Linked DNA regions of Homo sapiens: all the other regions are linked to region 3. The links are contacts of gene promoters, found by promoter capture Hi-C in human tissues and cell types (Jung and others, 2019). All regions are on one chromosome and are shown on one strand. The core of a region is centred on a gene start or on the middle of the fragment in contact, and the rest is flanking DNA. Distances in the headings are between cores, read along the strand shown.

Region 1 (2,700 bases), core at 49-2,548, 45 kb after region 3:
GGGGACCATTTTGGAGTCCTGGTAAGTAAGCAGTCACTAGGAAGGGGCCCCAGGTAGGGCAGGGCCCCACGTGGGGAAGAAAAATGAACAATTGTTATTTGAGAGATGGCTAATCACAAACAACCCACCGAAATTAGCTCCCTCCAGCCCCTGCCTCTTTACACACAGCCCCTTCTCTGCTGTTGCTGCCTGTTGCAACCTTGCAACATATTTTCATACTTTGTCTAATAAATCTGCCTTTCTTTACCTATAACTGTCTTGGTAAATTTTTTTACCACCTGCGAAGTCGGCCCCAACCATTTGTACCTATGATAGCCATGTCTGCCTTATATATCTCTCTGAATTCCCGGCACAGTGCATGGCGTAAAAAATATGTGATCATCAGTAAGAAATCATTCTCAACCAATTATTGCCAATTAAGTTATGTATCCCTTTAAAGTTCACATTCTTAAGCTATAAACACACAATGTCCTAGGGCCTTTCTGACAACTAGAGAAGTTCCAAGGTACTGGGTGCAATGTCTGGTCCATAGGGGTTACTGGAAAACCCAACCAGTTCCTGCTGGTCACTTCCTATTGTAGACTCAGCCCAGTTTCACTTACTCACCTAATGTTCACAAGAGGGAGTCTCCAGAGCTCCTCCAGTGGTCCCCACCGTGTACAGGAGAGGGATTAGGCACAGTGATGGGAAGGGGCAAGTGCCCAGAGCCACTCACCAAGAAGAGACAGAGCTGTGGCTGGGCCAAGCTGACGGACGGATGCAGGAGGCTGGTCAGTGCCCTCAAGGAATATCTAGTGTAATGTGGGAGATAAGCCACTCACAAGTGAAACACTTAAATCCACTGTGGCTGATTAAATGCCAAGTGCTGGCAGAGTCCCAAGTGCGGAAAGAAGAACAGGTATAAGGGAGGAGTCTGCATGGAAATGCTGAAATCTCAGCTGGGTTTTGAGTGAGATAAGAGGAGGAGACAGGGAGGGATTTATAACCAGAGAGAACAGCATGAGCAAGGGCTCAGAGGTGAGAGCAGGTGTGGCCAATCCAGGGGGCAAAAAGGAGAGCCAGACTGTGGGAAAGAACCAAGGTTACCTGACCAAGTCTCTGTTGCATGCCTGCCAGGGCTTTCTATCCTAGTTCATTTCATTTCACCCCTCCCAGAAACTTGTGAGACAGATTTTGTTGTTGTTGCCATTTTAAAGACAGGAAAACTAGGACTCCTTGGGATATGGCAAAGCTGGAATTTGATCCAGGTCTAACAGCAAAACTCTTGAGCTTTTCACTCTGCCTAGGTATATTCCTGCACGGTGCAAAAGGGGCTTCATCGGTGACGAGATCTCCCACTGGAACTTGGGAGATCCTGGTTCTACTTCTGAATAGGCGAGAACCTGGGCAAGTGATTTAGCCACTCTCACCCTCCTTCCCTCCTCTGTAATATGGGACATTAATAATTCCTATTATGCAATGGGAACAGCAGTTCCTGCTACAGTTGACCCTTGAATAATGCAGGGCTTAGCGGAACAAACAAACCCCAGTGCAGTCAAACTTTTGACTTTCCCAAAACTTAATAACCTACTGTTGACCAGAAGCTTTACCAATAACCTAAACAGTCAATTAACACGTTTTGTAGTCGTATGTATTATACACTGTATTCTGAAAATAAAGTTAGCAAGAGAAAAGAAAATGTTATAAGAAAATCATAAGGAAAAGAAAATACATTTACAGTACTGTACTGTATTTATTGATTCTGTAAGTTTACAAGATGAACAGTCAATCTAAAATGGCAGCAACTGCAACTGCAGACCTCAATTGATGGTCCATATCTAGCAATTCGACGTTTTCTTGTATGTCAGCTTGTGACTTTTCTTCTTGGGAGGCCTTCTACCATCACTAAATGGCACTGCCTTTGTATGGGATCCCCTGGTGTTATTCAAGATTTAGGGTATTGCACTTAACATGATGTAAAATACTTGAGAACCACACACTATCACTATTTACTGCAATAAGCAAAATGCTGGAGAAATGAGCTGTTCATGTGGAGTTGATTAGCGTCACAAGGCATTTAGAGTGGATACTCACAACAATTGAGCTCACTGTAATAGCAGCCAGCAGTGGCTACAAAATTATTACAGTAGTACATATAGTATGTGCTACAGTTAATTTTATGCAGTTATGATCTAATACTGCATCCTTACATTTATCTACATTTCTCTTGACTGTGAATGGCGCCATGTATGGTCTGTAAGTGTTTGTGTAAGTTTTGATAAATTTTAAATTTTTATTATAGGTTTGTGTATATTTTCTGGTAATAAATGATAAAATAGACTAGTATCTACATGTATTCTATACATTCACAACATACTTAACTTTTTCTAAATTTTCTATATTTTTGGGATACGTGGTTCATCTGCAAGTTTTTTCAAATTGTCACAAATCTACAAAAAATATATTTATTGAAAAAAATCCACATGTAAGTGGACCTGGATGGTTCAAACCTGTGTAGTTCAAGGGCCAGCTGTATATGCCTGTCTCAGATCAGTCCTGTTTCAGATCAGCCTTGTCTCAGATTAGCCCTGTCTCAGATCAGCCTGGGGGGAAGGGGGTGTTCCTCTGTGGGGTTCTCACACCAGGACCTGGGCAGATGGAATGCTGTGGTCACTTTACCTGTGGAAAAGAAGGAGCATGGCAAATCAACATGGCTTCTGA
Region 2 (2,700 bases), core at 91-2,590, 62 kb after region 3:
TAGCGAAAGCTGGAAACAACCTAAAAGAACATTAGTTGGGAAGTGGCAAGATAAATCGTAGATATCCATCTAAGGTTTGCAATTGTGAAAAGGGATGCAGAAGATATTTTGGGCTGATATAAAATCAGGCCCAAGGGGAAAAGGCAAAATACAGAACAGTGTGTGTGCAAGATGTTCTCAATTGTATAAGAAAAATATGGACATGTCTATATAAGTATGTTTGTTATATACACAATATATTACTAGAAAGAAATATAACAGTAGCTGTTTAAAAGAGGATAACTGGGGGGAAAGTCTTTTTACTTTATACACATCTGCATTAAAAAATTTTAACGTTCATGTATTGCCGTTTTAATTTAAAAAATTGTTAACAAAATCTATCCATATAATTTAAATACTAAATATTGCCATAAAAGTTGGCAAATAGATGTTGCTACCCACCTTTTCCTTGCCTTTGACCAAGATGAGTAAATCCACCAACCCTGAGAAAGGAAATCTGTCAGTAACCACTTCCCTTAGAAAATTCATTCGCTTTGACTGTCATCTGTGCTTTCATTCTTGCTGATGACTTTTGACAAATTGGGAAAAGACTCCACCAGCGAGGTGTCCCTGAGAGGCCAACTTCAGAAGGGGATCAAGAAAATGAGCCTCCACCTGTTATCTCTCCCTAGTAGCTGGGACTACAGGTGCCTGGTTGTTCAGGGATGGGCTCCAGGCTTGTGCAGGTGTGAATCACCCACTTCTGGATGGCAAATATGGCAGCTGCCAGGCCTGACCTAATGAATTAGAATCTCTGTTATGAGGCTCTGACAGCTACATTTTTAAAATCCCCTCCCTGCCACTTTGAGGTAGTTCTGAGACCCACAGCTTGGTTAACTGCCTCCCTCTCCAATTTACACTTAAATGCCCTGAATTTGGCCTCACTAAAAGATGACAGTTTCCTAATGGACTTCTCAGCAAGATGACATAAAAAGTATCCCCTATGAAGCTGGAGGCAGAATACTGTTCAGTCCCCAACAAGGGTGTCCATGTTCTAATTCCTGGAACCTACATATATGTTATCTTCCACGACCAAAGAAAATTTCCATATCAAGGTAAGGGACTTGAGATGGGGATGGCATCTTGAATATCTAGTTGGGCTCAATCTAATTACATGAACCCCTAAAAGAGAAGACCCTTTCCTAGCTGTAGTCAGAGAGAAATGTGTATGGACAAAAAGAGATGATGGTGCTGGCTTTAAAGATGGAAGATGGGGCTACAGCCAAGGAATGTGGGTGGCCTTTAAAAGATAAAAAACTCAAGGAAACAGATTGTACCCTGAAACTCCTAGAAAAGAACATAGCCCTGCCGACATGTTGATTTTCGTCCGCTGAGACCTGTGTAGGGCTTCTAAGTACTCAGGAGGCTGAGGCAGGAAGATTGGCTTGACCCCAGGAGGTTAAGGCTGCAGCAAGCCATATTTCCAGTACTGTACTCCAGCCTGGGCGACAGGACAAAACCCTGTCTCTAAAAAAAGAAGAAGAAGCAGAAGCAGAAGAGAAGAAGAAGTGGAAGTGGAAGTGGAAATGGAAGAGGAAGCATTAGCAGCAGCAGAAGAAGGAGAAGGAGAAGGAGAGGAAGAAGAAGAGAAGAAGGAGGAGAAGAAGGAAGAAGCAGCAGACACTGCATGGCAGGATTGAGGACCCAATCAGAATAAATTTGTGTGAGATGATAAATTTGTCTTGTTCTGGGCCACTAAATTTGTGATACTATGTTACAGTGGTAATGGGAAGCTAATATATAAATATTTTGGGCAAAAGTGTTCAATGTGAATCTAAGATTACAAGAAATACAGCGACTAAAGGAATGATTTAAATGATATTAGAAAGAAATAACCAGGGCTAGGTATGGTGGCTCACACCTGTAATTCCAGCACTTTGGAATGCCAGTGTGGATGGATTGCTTGAGTCCGGGAGTTCAAGACCAGTCTGGGCAACATGGCGAAAGCCCATTGCTACAAAAAATATGGAAAATTAGCTGGGTGTGGTGGTGCATGCCTGTAATCCCAGCTACTCGGGAGGCTGAGGCAGGAAGATCTCTTGAGCCCAGGAAGTGGAGGTTGCAGTGAGCTGAGATCATGCCATTGCTCTCCAGCCTGGGCCACAGAAGAAAATCCTGTCTAAAAAAAAAAAAAAAAAAAGAAAAAGAAAGAGAAAAAGAGAAAAAAGAAGGAAGCAACCAGCAACCAGGCAAACTAAGATTTAGTATGTTATTGAATCAGCTAATTCTTAGTTTGGCTTTATAGATTGGCTAGATTATTCACAAGGCAATGTTAAGCATAAAAAATCCAAAAGGGACTGCTTTGGGTGAAAACAGACAAAGGAAACATAACCAAAAGTAATATATGATACTTGATTAGATCCTAATAAAGCAGCCTATAAAATACATTCTTGAGGCAAATGGAGAAATTTGAATATAGTCCTTATAGTAGATTATATCATAGAATTATTATTAATATTCTTAGTTATGATAATGTGGTTAGTAGAAGAATATTATTATTCCTGGGAAATACTTGCTGGAACAGTTAGGGGCAAGGTATCATAGTGTCTGCAGCTTACTGGAAAAAAAGAAGGAAGGGAAGAAGGAAGAAAATGAATGAAGAAGGAGAAATAGACAGTAAAGAAAGAGAAAGAAATAAGTATAGATGGCAAAATGTTGACT
Region 3 (2,700 bases), core at 154-2,653:
AGGAGTTGGAGGCTACAGTGAGCTATAATTACACCAGTGCAATCCGGTCTAGGTGACAGAATGAGGCCAAAACAAACAAACAAACAAACAAACAAAAAAAACACCTGCCCTTTACCCTTTCTCAACCTGACAAATTGACTGACTTGTCTTGAAGGTTTGGCACCACTTCTTGGAAGCTTCCTCTGCTCCCCACCTGGGGTGATGCCCTCTTCTGGAAGGCTCTCACTGCTACACACACAGTGGCTGCCGAAGCTCAGCCTGGCTTTAGTTCCAGCCCTACTAGGTCTTCTCAGGACTCAGGATATCCAGGTGGAAGGAAGGCTGTGCCAGGTACCAACTACCCTACGTGGGATCGCCAAGATAAATCCCTCACATTCAAACTAGTCCCCCAACATCCGTCAACCCTATTCCTAACAGCAAATTGCCACCTTTAGTCCACTCCACAGTGCCCTCTGGAAGGGTCATCAAAAGACAGTTATGACCATACCAAACTATGATTCTTGACACAGAATCAAAAGTTATTTTCAATTTATTTTTTTTCTATTGTAGAACAATAATAATAATATTTAAAATCATATTTTCCTGTGATATAATTAAAACTGTGTTATTTCAATTGAATTTGAAATAGAATTCATGGTCTAAAATAGACTGAATCCCACTGTGAACATATATTTGCATGCCTTCCTCGTCATCATTCAGTTGGTGCAATTGTAAGGCATGCAATAACAAGGGAAGTGAACATTGCAGCACTGTGGCCTGTGGCCACGGTGATGGCGGGACAGCCCCACAGAGGCCACACCAGGTGACTCTCAGCTCGGTGGGTGGGAGGGGGAGTGTCTCTGTGTCCCTCTGGCACACACATCCTCACACAACCTCACATAGTCTTTTTTGCATTTGCTAGGCCATCTCATAACACTTAGGCTCATAAAATTCTGGCTTCCTTTGGATTAACTAAACCCATGGTCCCCCAAGATGGGGATTCCAGGGAGCAGGAGGGAGCCTCGAGGCAGCCCAGACTCCCAGCTGCAAACCTCACTTTCCAGAATACCACTGCCACACCTTGGCATATACCAAATGTTGACAAAGAAGGCTGTTCCCGTACAAGGGCCAATTTTAGAGCAAGCACCCTGTGGTTGGAAAACTGTAAAACCCTCAGCCCCAAAGCTGTGTGTGGCGCTTTGTGCGTGACAGGGCTGGGGCAGATCTCTCTGAGGCACTCAGGAAAACCATTCCCTTTGCTTGTGGTGGGCGGCCCCTGGTGGCTGCTCTGCCCTTGCCAAGTGTTACGTGTCTAAGGTCTGTGGGCATGTTTCTCATTTGCTGCAAAACATCCTCCCCACCCTTGCAGAGAAAGAGTCTTTTGTGCAGCACCCTTTAAAGGGTGACTCGTCCCACTTGTGTTCTCTCTCCTGGTGCAGAGTTGCAAGCAAGTTTATCGGAGTATCGCCATGAAGTTCGTCCCCTGCCTCCTGCTGGTGACCTTGTCCTGCCTGGGGACTTTGGGTCAGGCCCCGAGGCAAAAGCAAGGAAGCACTGGGGAGGAATTCCATTTCCAGACTGGAGGGAGAGATTCCTGCACTATGCGTCCCAGCAGCTTGGGGCAAGGTGCTGGAGAAGTCTGGCTTCGTGTCGACTGCCGCAACACAGACCAGACCTACTGGTGTGAGTACAGGGGGCAGCCCAGCATGTGCCAGGCTTTCGCTGCTGACCCCAAACCTTACTGGAATCAAGCCCTGCAGGAGCTGAGGCGCCTTCACCATGCGTGCCAGGGGGCCCCGGTGCTTAGGCCATCCGTGTGCAGGGAGGCTGGACCCCAGGCCCATATGCAGCAGGTGACTTCCAGCCTCAAGGGCAGCCCAGAGCCCAACCAGCAGCCTGAGGCTGGGACGCCATCTCTGAGGCCCAAGGCCACAGTGAAACTCACAGAAGCAACACAGCTGGGAAAGGACTCGATGGAAGAGCTGGGAAAAGCCAAACCCACCACCCGACCCACAGCCAAACCTACCCAGCCTGGACCCAGGCCCGGAGGGAATGAGGAAGCAAAGAAGAAGGCCTGGGAACATTGTTGGAAACCCTTCCAGGCCCTGTGCGCCTTTCTCATCAGCTTCTTCCGAGGGTGACAGGTGAAAGACCCCTACAGGTAATACCCTTTCCTTTACTCATATACAGAGACTACGTGTATATACTTATATACAGAGACTACGTGAGAGGCACTTAGCACTTTCACAGCTGCTGCGACCACATCAGAGTCTCAGCGTGTGTTTGGGGGTGGGTTTGAGGCTGTCTGTTGCAGAGCAGTGTAGATGAGGTAGTTCATCCGGAGTGGCACTTGACCCTGGAGTTGCATAGGAATCACCTACAAGGAGCTCTAAAAATGCTGATGCCCAGGCCCCTCGCCAGACCGTTCCATCTATGTCTCCAACATAGTAGCGCAGGAATGTGGACTTTTAAAACTCTCCCCCAAGTGATTTGAATGTGCAGCCAAGGTTGAGAATCTCCTTGTGATGGAACCACCTCACTGTTAGACCGAGGCCTTTGGAATTCTGCCGGGTAACGTTTCCTAATGAACCAAGCATTTGCTGCAGCTGTTAGTGGCCGAGGTGCTATGTCATGGTGGAGGTGTCGCCACACCCCGTCTTGTTCTCAGTTTTTTCTCCTACAGTCAAGTTAGGGTGGGGAGTGTTGTGCACTGAGGAAAGT

Evidence for each region. Contacts are between HindIII fragments. The study calls those that stand out against the background at their distance.
Region 1: a fragment that was not itself captured here is called in contact with the fragment with the promoter of FGFBP2 in region 3 in 3 of the 25 tissues and cell types used here (adrenal gland, aorta and spleen).
Region 2: a contact is called between a fragment that was not itself captured here and the fragment with the promoter of FGFBP2 in region 3, in 3 of the 25 tissues and cell types used here (spleen, stomach and thymus).

What each region holds. Positions count from the first base shown.
Region 1 is chr4:15,916,835-15,919,534 of GRCh38, reverse strand. No RefSeq gene overlaps it. Among named protein-coding and RNA genes, the nearest start is that of FGFBP1, 21 kb to the left of the region's middle. The HindIII fragment of the contact is 3,961 bases long and covers 1-2,700 here.
Region 2 is chr4:15,900,062-15,902,761 of GRCh38, reverse strand. No RefSeq gene overlaps it. Among named protein-coding and RNA genes, the nearest start is that of FGFBP1, 37 kb to the left of the region's middle. The HindIII fragment of the contact is 6,221 bases long and covers 1-2,700 here.
Region 3 is chr4:15,961,878-15,964,577 of GRCh38, reverse strand. FGFBP2 (fibroblast growth factor binding protein 2) reads left to right here and starts at 1,403. Exons shown (of 2, transcript NM_031950.4): 1 at 1,403-2,140. The coding sequence starts at 1,449. The coding sequence ends at 2,120. RefSeq lists an enhancer at 532-1,373. The HindIII fragment of the contact is 18,537 bases long and covers 1-2,700 here.